2 separate regions of the Homo sapiens genome follow, and region 2 is linked to region 1. The links are contacts of gene promoters, found by promoter capture Hi-C in human tissues and cell types (Jung and others, 2019). All regions are on one chromosome and are shown on one strand. Each heading gives the region's core, a stretch centred on a gene start or on the middle of the fragment in contact. The rest is flanking DNA. Distances are from core to core; before and after follow the strand shown. Region 1 holds the start of IFNA16 (interferon alpha 16). Region 2 has its middle 210 kb from the start of SLC24A2.

Region 1 (5,802 bases), core at 1,441-3,940:
TAAATTTTGTGTTAGGATTTCCTTAATAATTATTAATCTCCTTTTTTCCTCATTTATACGCAACCATCTCCTGCTCTCTGAATTTCCTTGGTTCATGTTGTATTTTCAGCTGATTTTGACCAACTTTCTTTTTAAATTTTGCTGTAAGTTCCGGGATAGGTGTGCAGAACGTGCAGATTTGTTACATAGGTATACATGTGCCATGGTGGTTTGCCTCACCTATCAACTCGTCACCTAGGTTTTAATCACAATTTGTTTTAATCCAGTGTATTATTGATGGGCATTTGGGTTGGTTTCGTGTCTTTGCCATTATAAACAGTGCTGCAATACACATACACGTTCATGTATTTTATAACAGAACGATTTATATTCCTTTGGGTATATAGTCAGTAATGGGATTGCTGGGTCAAATGGTATTTCTGGTTCTAGATCCTTGATGAATCGCCACACTGTCTTCCACAATGGTTGAAGTAATTTACATTCCCTCCAACAGTGTAAAAGATTTCCTATTTTTCTACAGCTTCACCAGCATCTGTTGATTTTGACTCTTCAATAATTGCCATTCTGAGTGGCATGAGATGGTATTTCATTGTGGTTTTGATTCGCATTTCTCTAATGATCAGCGATGTTGAGTTTTTAAATGATTATTGGCCTCATAAATGTCTACTTTTAAGAAGAGTCTGTTCATATCCTTCACCCACTTTTTGATGGGGCTCTTTGTTTTTGTAAATTTAAGCTCTTTTTTGTACATTCTGGATATTAGACCTGTGTCAGTTGGGTAGGCTGCAAAGATTTTCTCCCATTCTGTGGGTTGCCTGTTCACTCTGATGATGGATAGTTTCTTTTGCGTGCATACGTTCTCTAATTAGATGCCATTTGTCAGTTTTAGCTTTTGTTGCAGTTGCTTTTGTCGATTTCTTCATAAAATCTTTGCCCATCCTGTGTCCTACATTTTTTCTAGGGTTTTTATGGTTTTGGGTTTTACATTTAAGTCTTTAATCCATCTTGAGTTAATTTTTGTATAAGGTGTAAGGAAGTGGTCCAGTTTCAATTTTCTGCCTATGGCTATCCAGTTTTTCCAGCACCATTTATCATCATTCCTTCTAAATACATTTTATCATCATTCCCTCTCGTCCTTCTAATGATAAGGTATTCCACCTCTGTTTTCTTTGTGTGTCTTCTGTTCCCCCACTTTAATAGTGGAAGTTCCTCAGAATCCAGTTTAAGTCTTTTTTTCCCTCTCCGCTTGCTCCCCACATGACAGCCTTCATTTTAGGCCTTTCCATTGCCAGTTATGAACTTCCAGATATCGTATTCCTTGGAAACTGCAAACTCATATATCTGACTTGCAATGTACATTTTCAATTACATGTTGAAAGTCAGTTTATAGAGAGTATCTCTACTTTTACTTGCAGACATTTCTTAATCTATGTTCTGCTAAGAGGAATTCATTGTTTTTTTTTACTTCCTCACATTACAGCAGTTAGTATAACTGATATTAATTCAGCATTATTATTGTTTTTAGAAACATTTCCTGACAAAAATCAAAGATACAAGACAACAAGAACTGTATTTTTTATGTTCAAGTTTATATCCTGAAGGCAACATATAACGTGGTATAGAAAAATATATTTTTCTATAACTTGAATAAAATTATGATAGGTAACTTACTTAAATCATCTATTTTTAAGTCAGGTTATACAGTCAGGCTTGGTATTTAATCTTAAAAAATAAACAAACACAAGAAATTTTGTATAGTAAAAATTTAATGAAAAGGAAGTTAATATATTAACTAAATATGAAGAACATATATTGTTACATTAAGCAAAATGTAAAGGTACACATGATATTACATAAAACATGATTTAAACCTTAAAAATAGTTAAATAAATAAATATTTAAATAAATAGATGAATAGAGACATCAGCATGGTCATCTGTAAAGGACTAGTGCCTGCACAGGTAAACACGATGCTTCTTTACACTCCTGAAAACATTTGAAAATTTTGATTCAACTTGTGGTGGTTATAGAAGTGAGTCTTTGAAATGGAAGAACTCATGAAAGTGTGAGATGATGTATTAATCAATGAGGATCATTTCCATGTTGAATGAGTTTTCAATCCTTCCTTCTTAATCCTTTTTGCAAGTTTGTTGAAAAAGAGAAGGATCTCATGATTTCTGCTCTGACAACCTCCCAGGCACAAGGGCTGTATTTCTTCCCCATCAGATAAAGAGTGATTCTTTGAAAGTATTTCCTCACAGCCAGGATGGAGTCCTCATTCATCAGGGCAATCTCTTCCACCCCAACCTCCTGTGTCACACAGGCTTCTAGGTCATTCAGTTGCTGGAAAAGTTCAATGTAGAATTTGTCTAGGAGGGTCTCATCCCAAGCAGCAGATGAATCCTTTGTGCTGAAGAGATTGAAGGTCTGCTGGATCATCTCATGGAAGGCAGAGATGGCTTGAGCCTTCTGGAACTGGTTGCCATCAAACACCTCCTGGGGGAATCCGAAATCATATCTGTCCTTCAGGCAGGAGAAATGAGAGATTCTTCCCATTTGTGCCAGGAGTATCAAGGCCCTCCTATTACCCAGGCTGTGAGTCTGAGGCAGATCACAGCCCAGAGAACAGATGGATTTGTAGCTGAGCACCAGCACGGCCATCAGTAAAGAAAAGGACAGGGCCATTGGGATGTTGCAAATATTGCTAGGCTACTGGAGATGGGTAAACTTGAACCTTGGCCTCTAGGTTTTCTGAAGACTTTGCTCTGTGCATAGTTCTTAAATAGTGAACATACTAATTTCCATTTTCTAAATGCCCTGGTTTTACTTTCTATCTCTGTTTTTGCTTTCTTTATGCACTCTCTACATGTGTTTACATATGTTTTTCATTTTGTTCATCATTGCCTATTTTTCCCCTGCACTCAAAGACTTTTATGGTATTTTTTACTAATTGGAATCTTCATGAAATTTTAATAACACAGATTTGGCATATCTATTTATGTATACTACGTATACCTCTACTTCACAGATAAAAACTATAAAGTTTGCTCTTTTTATTCAATGTAAAGTTAAGAATGACAGAAAAGTTAAACTAAAATCTAAGTTTAAAAGCTGTTGACATATAACTTAATTTGATAAGTATATTTCTGGAATAACTTTTAGTGTAATTCATTAATGTAAATTATATTTTATCAAATTACATATGCAATATAAAAGCTATATAAATACACGTTAATATGAATGTAATTACATACTGAATCATTGAAAACTACTAAATATATGAATCAATAATTTTTTAAAATTTTTCTCATAGTGTATGAAGCTTTGAATTTTGCTTAATATGAGAAAATAATTTGTAAACTTTACTAGCTGCAGTATTCATCCAGATATTGCCAACACTTTTTTCTTTTCAGCACTTGACATAAATATTGATGTGTTGAATAACTGTACTAGAAATAAATCATATGATACAAGCTATTTGCATTGAATTCTCAAAGTCTACAAAACATCCTGAAGAACTGAGGATCAAACATAAGCAATAACCATAAGATAGTCAATGGCAGCCCAAAGGTGTGCAGGTTAAAGCCACATATTATGATAAGATTTTAAGATCAAGCAAAAATGGACAGAATGTCCTCCTATCACAGTCTTCTATTTGCCATAGGTTTGTAACACTGATCTTGCAAATATTTTGTGTATCTTCAGGAACTCAATATCAGTGCTTCTCATGTGATACAGCAGAAAATCCAATGAGAGAGATGTATATTAAGCAATGAAATTTTGTTGGACAGAGTTGTTAGAGAATCACCAACTATTGTAATGTGTTAGGTTAGTTTATACTTCGAGAACCCTTAGGAGAAGTATCACATAGACATATGTGACTTAGAATATATTATCATGTAAAGAATTAATTTTCAGAGTGGTCCTGAACTCTGACTCTACCTTTTCTTTTGCCTAAGAAGTTAGTTTGCCTTGGCCCTATAGATACTGAGTCTTTAAATGGAATGAGGTCTGCTTTAGCAAATCAGCTATTTAGTAAGTGGAGTTTTTACTAGTTTCTCATTTTTTCTTCTACTGGAAAGTGTTCAAGAATGAAGCTATTTTGCTTCCTCATGGCCATATTTGCTGGGATTGTAATAGACAATGACAAAAGTTTCCATTCAGCTTTTACTGAGAGTCAATAATGCCCATTTAGTTTACTGCTTAAACCACTGGGATTCTAGTTTTTTTAAGGTTCATGTAGATCTGGGGATACAAGTTGCAAGAGCAGCATAATATCATCCTTTGCTAGCACTATGTTAACTATTTATGGCTTCATCTCTAATCTGTCCTCTATTTTGTGATAATAGAAAATAAGTAGCCTGGTGTCAAATACAGAGTCACATATCTAATTTCAAACTCTCCAATTCACACAGTTTATAGGAATCAGACAATTTACTATTCCCAAAAGTAGGGAATAATAGCCTCTATCCCCCAAATAATCCTACAGCTTTCCTTCCCTGGATCAAATCCCCAGAATGTGTATGTGAACGGTAGATACTTGTGACATCATTTTTCCATCATTTATAAATTTCAGTTTCAAATCACGTGATAATCTTTAGATGACACTAGTAGAAAATTAGCCTGTTTATATAAAGGTAGAGATTATGAAATGGACCAATTTTAGAAAATAACCAAACACATTTTATTATTCATTATTTTAAATGATTCACTTAAATTCTTTATATCATTGAACAATTAAAATATTCTACATTTTGAAATGTGCACAGGGGTTTCCATAATAGAGGAGGTTTCATTTCAGAAATGTATATTTTGTACATTAATTTAGTAGTTGATCCAGTCAACACATTTTTATTGAATTTTGGGCTAATCCTTTGTATCAGACCCGGACAATACAGGGCAATTTTGCCCAAGTTATTATGCTTAGTCTTTGAAACACTGGGGGAGAGAGTATTTTTTCTTTGTTCACTTGCGATTGTATGGGGAATTTTTGCGTATTCATTTTTTATGTAGTATTTTACTGTGAAAATTTGTTTTTCTATACTTTGATTTCTTTCATTTTCATATTCAGGTTAGTGTCAATGAAACAATGTACCCAGTAGTCATTCAGGAGCAGGTTGTTCAGTTTCCATGTAGTTGAGCGGTTTTGAGTGAGTTTCTTAATCCTGAGTTCTAGTTTGATTGCACTGTGCTCTGAGAGACAGTTTGTTATAATTTCTGGTCTTTTACATTTACTGAGGAGAGCTTTACTTCCAACTATGTGGTCAATTTTGGAATAGGTGTGGTGTGGTGCTGAAAAAAATGTATATTCTGTTGATTTGGGGAGGAGAGTTCTGTAGATGTCTATTAGGTCGACTTGGTGCAGAGTTGAGTTCAATTCCTGGGTATCCTTGTTGACTTTCTGTCTGGTTGATCTGTCTAATGTTGACAGTGTGGTGTTAAAGTCTCCCATTATTATTGTGTGGGAGTCTAAGTCTCTTTGTAGGTCACTAAGCACTACTCGGTACATAACGAAATGAAGGCAGAAATAAAGATGTTCTTTGAAACCAACGAGAACAAAGACACAACATACCAAAATCTCTGGGACACATTCAAAGCAGTGTGTAGAGGGAAATTTATAGCACTAAATGCCCACAAGAGAAAGCAGGAAAGATCCAAAATTGACATTCTAACATCACAATTAAAAGAACTAGAAAAGCGAGAGCAAACGCATTCAAAAGCTAGCAGAAGGCAAGAAATAACTAAAATCAGAGCAGAACTGAAGGAAATAGAGACCAAAAAAACCCTTCAAAAAATTAACCA
Region 2 (5,802 bases), core at 929-3,428, 1.2 Mb before region 1:
GTCCCCATTTGTGAGCCCAAGAAGATCAGAGGAGGTGGTCAGGATCATTCAGCACACTCTCAGCAAGTGTCAGACTCACCCAACAACAGAAAGGGAAACCCCAGTCACAGATCCACTATTATAGAAGGGGAGAGGTAAACAGAGAGAATTTACTGAGTGGTTAGAAATGATTCCACTCATGAAAAAACAGGCGTACAACAGCAGCTAGGAGTGAGCAAGACAAACTCCAGTCTTCAGAATTACACACAGATTCAGCTCTGTTGAGATCTTACTTGATGACATGGTTGGACTCAGGCAACACATTTTATTTGCCAATGAAACTGTATTTGGATAAATAGTTAATTTGCCTGTGTCCCTCACTGCAAAAGAGAAGCTCTTATTTCCTTCTCAGTTTGAATCAGATTTGAATCAGAATTTTATCAATAGAAGATTCAGCATTAATTTTCTCTGGCTCTTTCCAATAGGCCCTCCTAGTTACTATCTCTTAGTTCATACCTGGCATCCTTATATTTTTGGGAAAAAAGCCAATACTATTAAGGATAAGCCATACAATAATAAAAATTATATTAATAATAATGCATCTCTCACTATTTAGCACTTACTCTGTGCCGGAAGCTGTGGTAAGTAATTTACATTCATTGTCTCAATTGGTCTTCACAATGAAACAACAAAATCTGTAATTATCATTTTCTCCATTTTAGAGATGGGAGATTGAGATTTAGACATGGCAGGGCTAGGATTCAAACTCTGGCAGATGAACTCTGAGTGTGCCCCTCTTCAGAAATGGGTCTTCCATTCAGACCCATTCAGGGGTTAACTCAGCCTGAACTCGCCCACACATACCCTGTTTTGAGCTCAACTTCCTTCTGGCAGCAGTACTTCCTGAAGCCTGTCAATGATTCACTTCCGGGTCACCTCTACCCTCTGTGAGCCTTGTGAGACATTTTAAATGCCAGAGCCACATTCATTCATTGTAGCTCCAGCATTTCTTTTCCTAGGGACATGCTATTTTCATTAGGATTAAAACAGCCCCCAGCAATAAATATTAAAAACCTGCCCAGTGAAAAGAGCAGCTTCCTCAGAAGCTTATGAGGATTAGAATTTTTAAGCAGGCCCCGCTTCCTATGACCACCCCTCTTCTCCATCCCTTTGTGTGCTCCCACATGGGTGTGCTTTCAGCATCAATCAGATTTGCTGTTTTGCTCAAATCCGTTCATACTAATTGTCTGCCCATATTGCTGTGTGCTCTGGACAGAATGGTCTGGGAGAAATAGAAACTCACTCCTTCTCCCACCCCTGGGGGGATTCAGATTTTGTGTGCTTGATCTTTGTTGGTGGCAAGATAAAAATGCTTGCTATACATAGCAGCTTTCCTCCTTCATGTTCAACGGCAGCCCTGATGATGGGGGACCTCAGCCATCCTATTTGTTCTAAAGCCACCCACAGAAGAATCAGACCAGCAGAAGCCAGAAATAAGCTAGCTGGGGCTGCAAGTCTCTTTGTGTGTGGTGATATAGCAGAGAGACTTGGGAAAGTCAATTATTTTCAGTATGAGTTTTGGTTCCACTGCTTCATGGTGTAAGATGGGGATCCCCAATTTGTTCATCTGTAAAATGAAGATGCTAATGCCTACCCACTGGGGCTATTGGGAGAATTAAAGACCTATATAAAGTGTTTAGTGCAAGACTTGGAGCAGGGAGCCACGGCTTTGCCTGTCACTCCTTCGCCTCCCTGGCTGGAAGCCTGAGTAGTAGGTGAGGCATTTATTATCCATGTTCATTAACATCCCTGAAGACTTGTGGTTCCTGTATTGAAAACCACACTGAGTGTTCCCAGTTAATTGGGTGTCCTTGGGCCTGAGTTTCTCTACACAAATATATGAGCTTGGGATTTTTAAAAAGTATACAGTAATTATATTCTTGGACAAATGGTACCTTTTCTAGAAAAGCACAGAGAATTCTTTCAGCACTCAGGGCTAGGTAGGAATTGCTTGATGTATGGGTAGCAACTCATAGTAACTAATGATTTACAATAAATACTCCAACAAAGAAAAGTCTGAGTAAACTCTATATTTCATCCTCATGGCAATGAGCTACAAAAGGTTTGCATTTTAAATCAACTGGTGGTTGTACCCCAGAAGGATGTGGTCTAAATAGATTTGTGTGACAGGGTAATTACTCATCACGGAAAGGATCCCAGCTGTCATCATGGTTTCTCACTAAGCAGTCAGTGAGTGAGCAGTTATGGAATTACAGGGCTGACCTCCTGTGTCCTGCCTTACAGTCATCCTGAGCCAGAGTCACAGAGTTTCATCAGGGGGACCCAGGAGGCACAAAGCAGTCAACACCCATGGCTGAGAATCAAAGTCTAGAAGGGGCCTGTTTTCAACCTCTTCATCCGGGTCACTGGTGGCAATTTTGCCAAGTGACTAAAGAGCTAGACTAGGAGTTCCCCAGTTCAGGGTCTTAATGGCCTGAATGTTCAAGACAGTGTGGAGAGGTTCAGAGACTGCAGTCTTTGGGGTTACACAGACCTGTGCTGGAGTCTCAGTCTTTGGGGTTACACAGACCTGTGCTGCTGCTCACTTTGTGATCGATCTGCAACTAAAAAACCACATTTCTCTGATTTACTATTTTTCTAGCTGTAAAATGGAGGTAATAATTCCTACTTTAAAAGATTTTAAACTAGTATGTATGGAAATGGTTGGCACTTAATGAACATTATTATTTCACCTTTTGAAGTACCATTAGGTGCCAGAAACTGTGCTAAGCATATTACATGGACTTTGCTCATAACAGTTCCCTATTTTATGGATAAGGAATTGGAGGAATCTTGCCCAAGTAGCTAGTATGCAGCTAGTTAGTAGCAGAGACAGAATTTGACCTAGGCAGGTTGGATCCAGACTGCCCTATAATCATCAGAGGGTGAAAACATACCTTCAACTGGAGTTTCAGAGACTTTTGTGCCAGTTCTTGATAAACATTGTATAGGTATAAACTCTATCTTCAAAAAGTTTATCCAGTCTCATTGGAGGACAAGGGAGAAACATCAGAACACAAACGGCCCTGAGAATAGACCACCTGGCAACAAACAATAACTGCTGTAGGAGCTCAGTGAAGATCAGGAACTCACGACACATGGATCTCTTCTCCCGCAGTCTCCATATCTGCCACATTTTTTTGCACTGGAGTTTCTTATGTGTCAGTGTTATATAATTTTAAGGCTCTGATTTTGAACTAAAGAATGGACCCCAGTTTTGCCTTAAGCATAAAGACAGGAAATATACATGCCCTAGAGACTAAGTTAACAGTAAAATGTGAGACTGTTCCTCCTCTATACACAGAGAAAACTTTCATGGGAAAAACAGGATCACTGTTGAGACAGAAAAGTTATGTATGAGAGGGTGTGGAGGACGGAAGGAGGCAGGAAGCATAACTTGGAATTATTGCTTTTTAAGCTTAGAAGGGTCATCTGACCCTAATGGATAGTAAGATGAATATTATCTTGGTATCCAAGAGCAAAGATCACGTTTTGAGGCCCTTTCTCTCCCCATCCATTGCTCTAATGGGCCCACCCTCACTTTAAAAATAAACAATCAAATGCAAACGTGGCAGTTGCATTTTGTGGGCCACAAAGGAGAAAGTTAAAGCCTGGAGGATCAGCACTTCGTTTCTGATGGCAGAGCCTGCATTGTCCCTGCTGCGCCACACATCCTGTCCTCTTAGATCCAGCAATGAGTGGGCTGAGGATAGGAGGGAGTGTGCATCCACCTTCCTGCAAAGCTGCAGGTTTACCTGTGGAGAGTGCTCTGCATGCCTCACAACGCACCCTCTCACCCTCCTGGCACTCTATTTTGGCTCAGGTCTGCATGGAGAGAAGGGAACTGTCCTGCGGAAGAAATCTGGAAGGGGGTTAAGCCTAGCAGGAAGGGGAAGAAGCCAAGGCAACCAATTAATTTTCCTTTGCTGCTTAAATCATTCTCGCCCAATCTGCTGAGCTGAGAATAAGCATAACTGTCCCCAAGGTGTCAAGGCCCTGCCTTTTTTGGGTAAATCACATGGGAATCAAAAATAGAACCACTGTGAAAAAAGGCGTCTCAGTCCACCCTCCACTGGCAATGGCTGAGTTTGGTGGATATTCATCTCTATTCCATGTCATCCGCCAACTTTGAGGCCTGCTTGCCACATCACCAAAGAGGTTGCTAAGCATCTTCCTACCGAGTCTTTAAGATTTGTTACATGGATTTGGGCATTATACAGACATGTCTTTTATTTATGATGCCTCTGGTTAAAGGTTGCCTCTCCCAAAGAAAAAAAGCTTCACAAAGCAACACCTACTTTGATCCAGCACTAAAATATTTAGTAGAGTGCTATCTCCCAAAATGTGTTTATTGAAACATCAGTTCTGTGATATATTCCCAGAAAAATGTACTTCATGGAAAATATGTAAGTCCACATAAGAATACTAAAGGTAAGAATACTGTTTATGTGAGTTTAATACAGCATTTCTAAAATTTATTTATTGATAGAATTCTTTTGATTTTCAAAAGTTTGAGGCAGTCCTCAGGGCTGAGGACTAAAGCCCTGCTTTAGTGGAACATACTTAGGTAAATGCTGATGAATCCACAAGGATTGTTTTAGTACCACCACCTCTGGTGCAGAGACAAGCATTCTGCTTGTCACCACAAGATTTCAACATCGGAAGAGTAATAGTAATACCAATAGCACTACCATTTCACCCCAACTCTGTGTCTACGTAGGCTGTTGAGCCAGCACTGATGTACCAGTAGTTGAAAGGTGTCTCTGAGCAATGCACAAAAGGCTGCCATGTTAGAAAAATGATTAGCACTTTATTCTACCAAAAGGCTTACTGCAAGCTACAAACCTTTTTTTTTTTTTTTTTTCAGTAACAATTATTAGTTTGGTACCCTTTTGAAAAGATAATAGCATAACACCAGGAAAATCTACTCAGGGTATAATCAGGCATAAGCACAAAAGGAGTGTCACTGCACTTACTGTTAAAACAAACTCAGGTACCCTTATTAGACCCATTTTGTAGATGAGTAAACTGAAGATAACATACTTCAATGTCCCACTGCTGGTACATCACAGAGTTAGGACTTGAACTCAGGCAATCATAGTTGAGAGCTCACTCTCTTAACCACAGATGGGACAGGTAAATGATGGAAACTCCAGACTGGTGCACTCACAGTGACTGTCACCAAGGAGGTCACAGAAGTTTCTGGTTTGTCTTCTTCCATATATAGAACAGCCAAACACTTCTGGATTTTTCCTCCCTCCTTGCCCACTGCCCATGTCTGGTGGTTTCAGGAGGGGACAACAGCAGGGCTGGCTGTATTCCACATAACAGGGTTTTTCTTAGCTGTAGCCTCCACACACATCCTCCACCTACCTGTAGGGCTGACTCTACGGATGTACAACCAATACATTCACAAATGGCCCCGTGTTTAGATGGCTCTGTGCTTGGTTTAATGGTCTGTTGTCAGCATCCTGAAATTCTTAATAGCTTTCGAAAAGGGGACCTGTACTAGGCCCCATAAATGATAAATCTGGTTCTGCCTGCCTATTTGGCATTCATTTTGTTTGTTGAATTAGATATGGTGGTGAGGGAAGGATTTTGTGTAACAAATCTATATGAGAGGATTCCCCCAAAATGTATAAAGAATGGTCACTGCAGATAATATATGGCAACTAACCAAACACTTGAACACGTAACACACTTATACAAAACTATGCCCATGACCACAGGCAAAATGATGCTTGTAAGACTCTAATCCAGCAA

The links. Contacts are between HindIII fragments. The study calls those that stand out against the background at their distance.
Region 2: a fragment that was not itself captured here is called in contact with the fragment with the promoter of IFNA16 in region 1 in 1 of the 25 tissues and cell types used here (dorsolateral prefrontal cortex).

Annotation. Positions count from the first base shown.
Region 1 is chr9:21,214,621-21,220,422 of GRCh38, forward strand. IFNA16 (interferon alpha 16) reads right to left here and starts at 2,691. Exons shown (of 1, transcript NM_002173.3): 1 at 1,753-2,691. The coding sequence starts at 2,685. The coding sequence ends at 2,116. The HindIII fragment of the contact is 8,956 bases long and covers 1-4,855 here.
Region 2 is chr9:19,997,481-20,003,282 of GRCh38, forward strand. It overlaps a transcript of SLC24A2 not described here. Among named protein-coding and RNA genes, the nearest start is that of SLC24A2, 210 kb to the left of the region's middle. RefSeq lists an enhancer at 1,820-3,019. The HindIII fragment of the contact is 3,417 bases long and covers 471-3,887 here.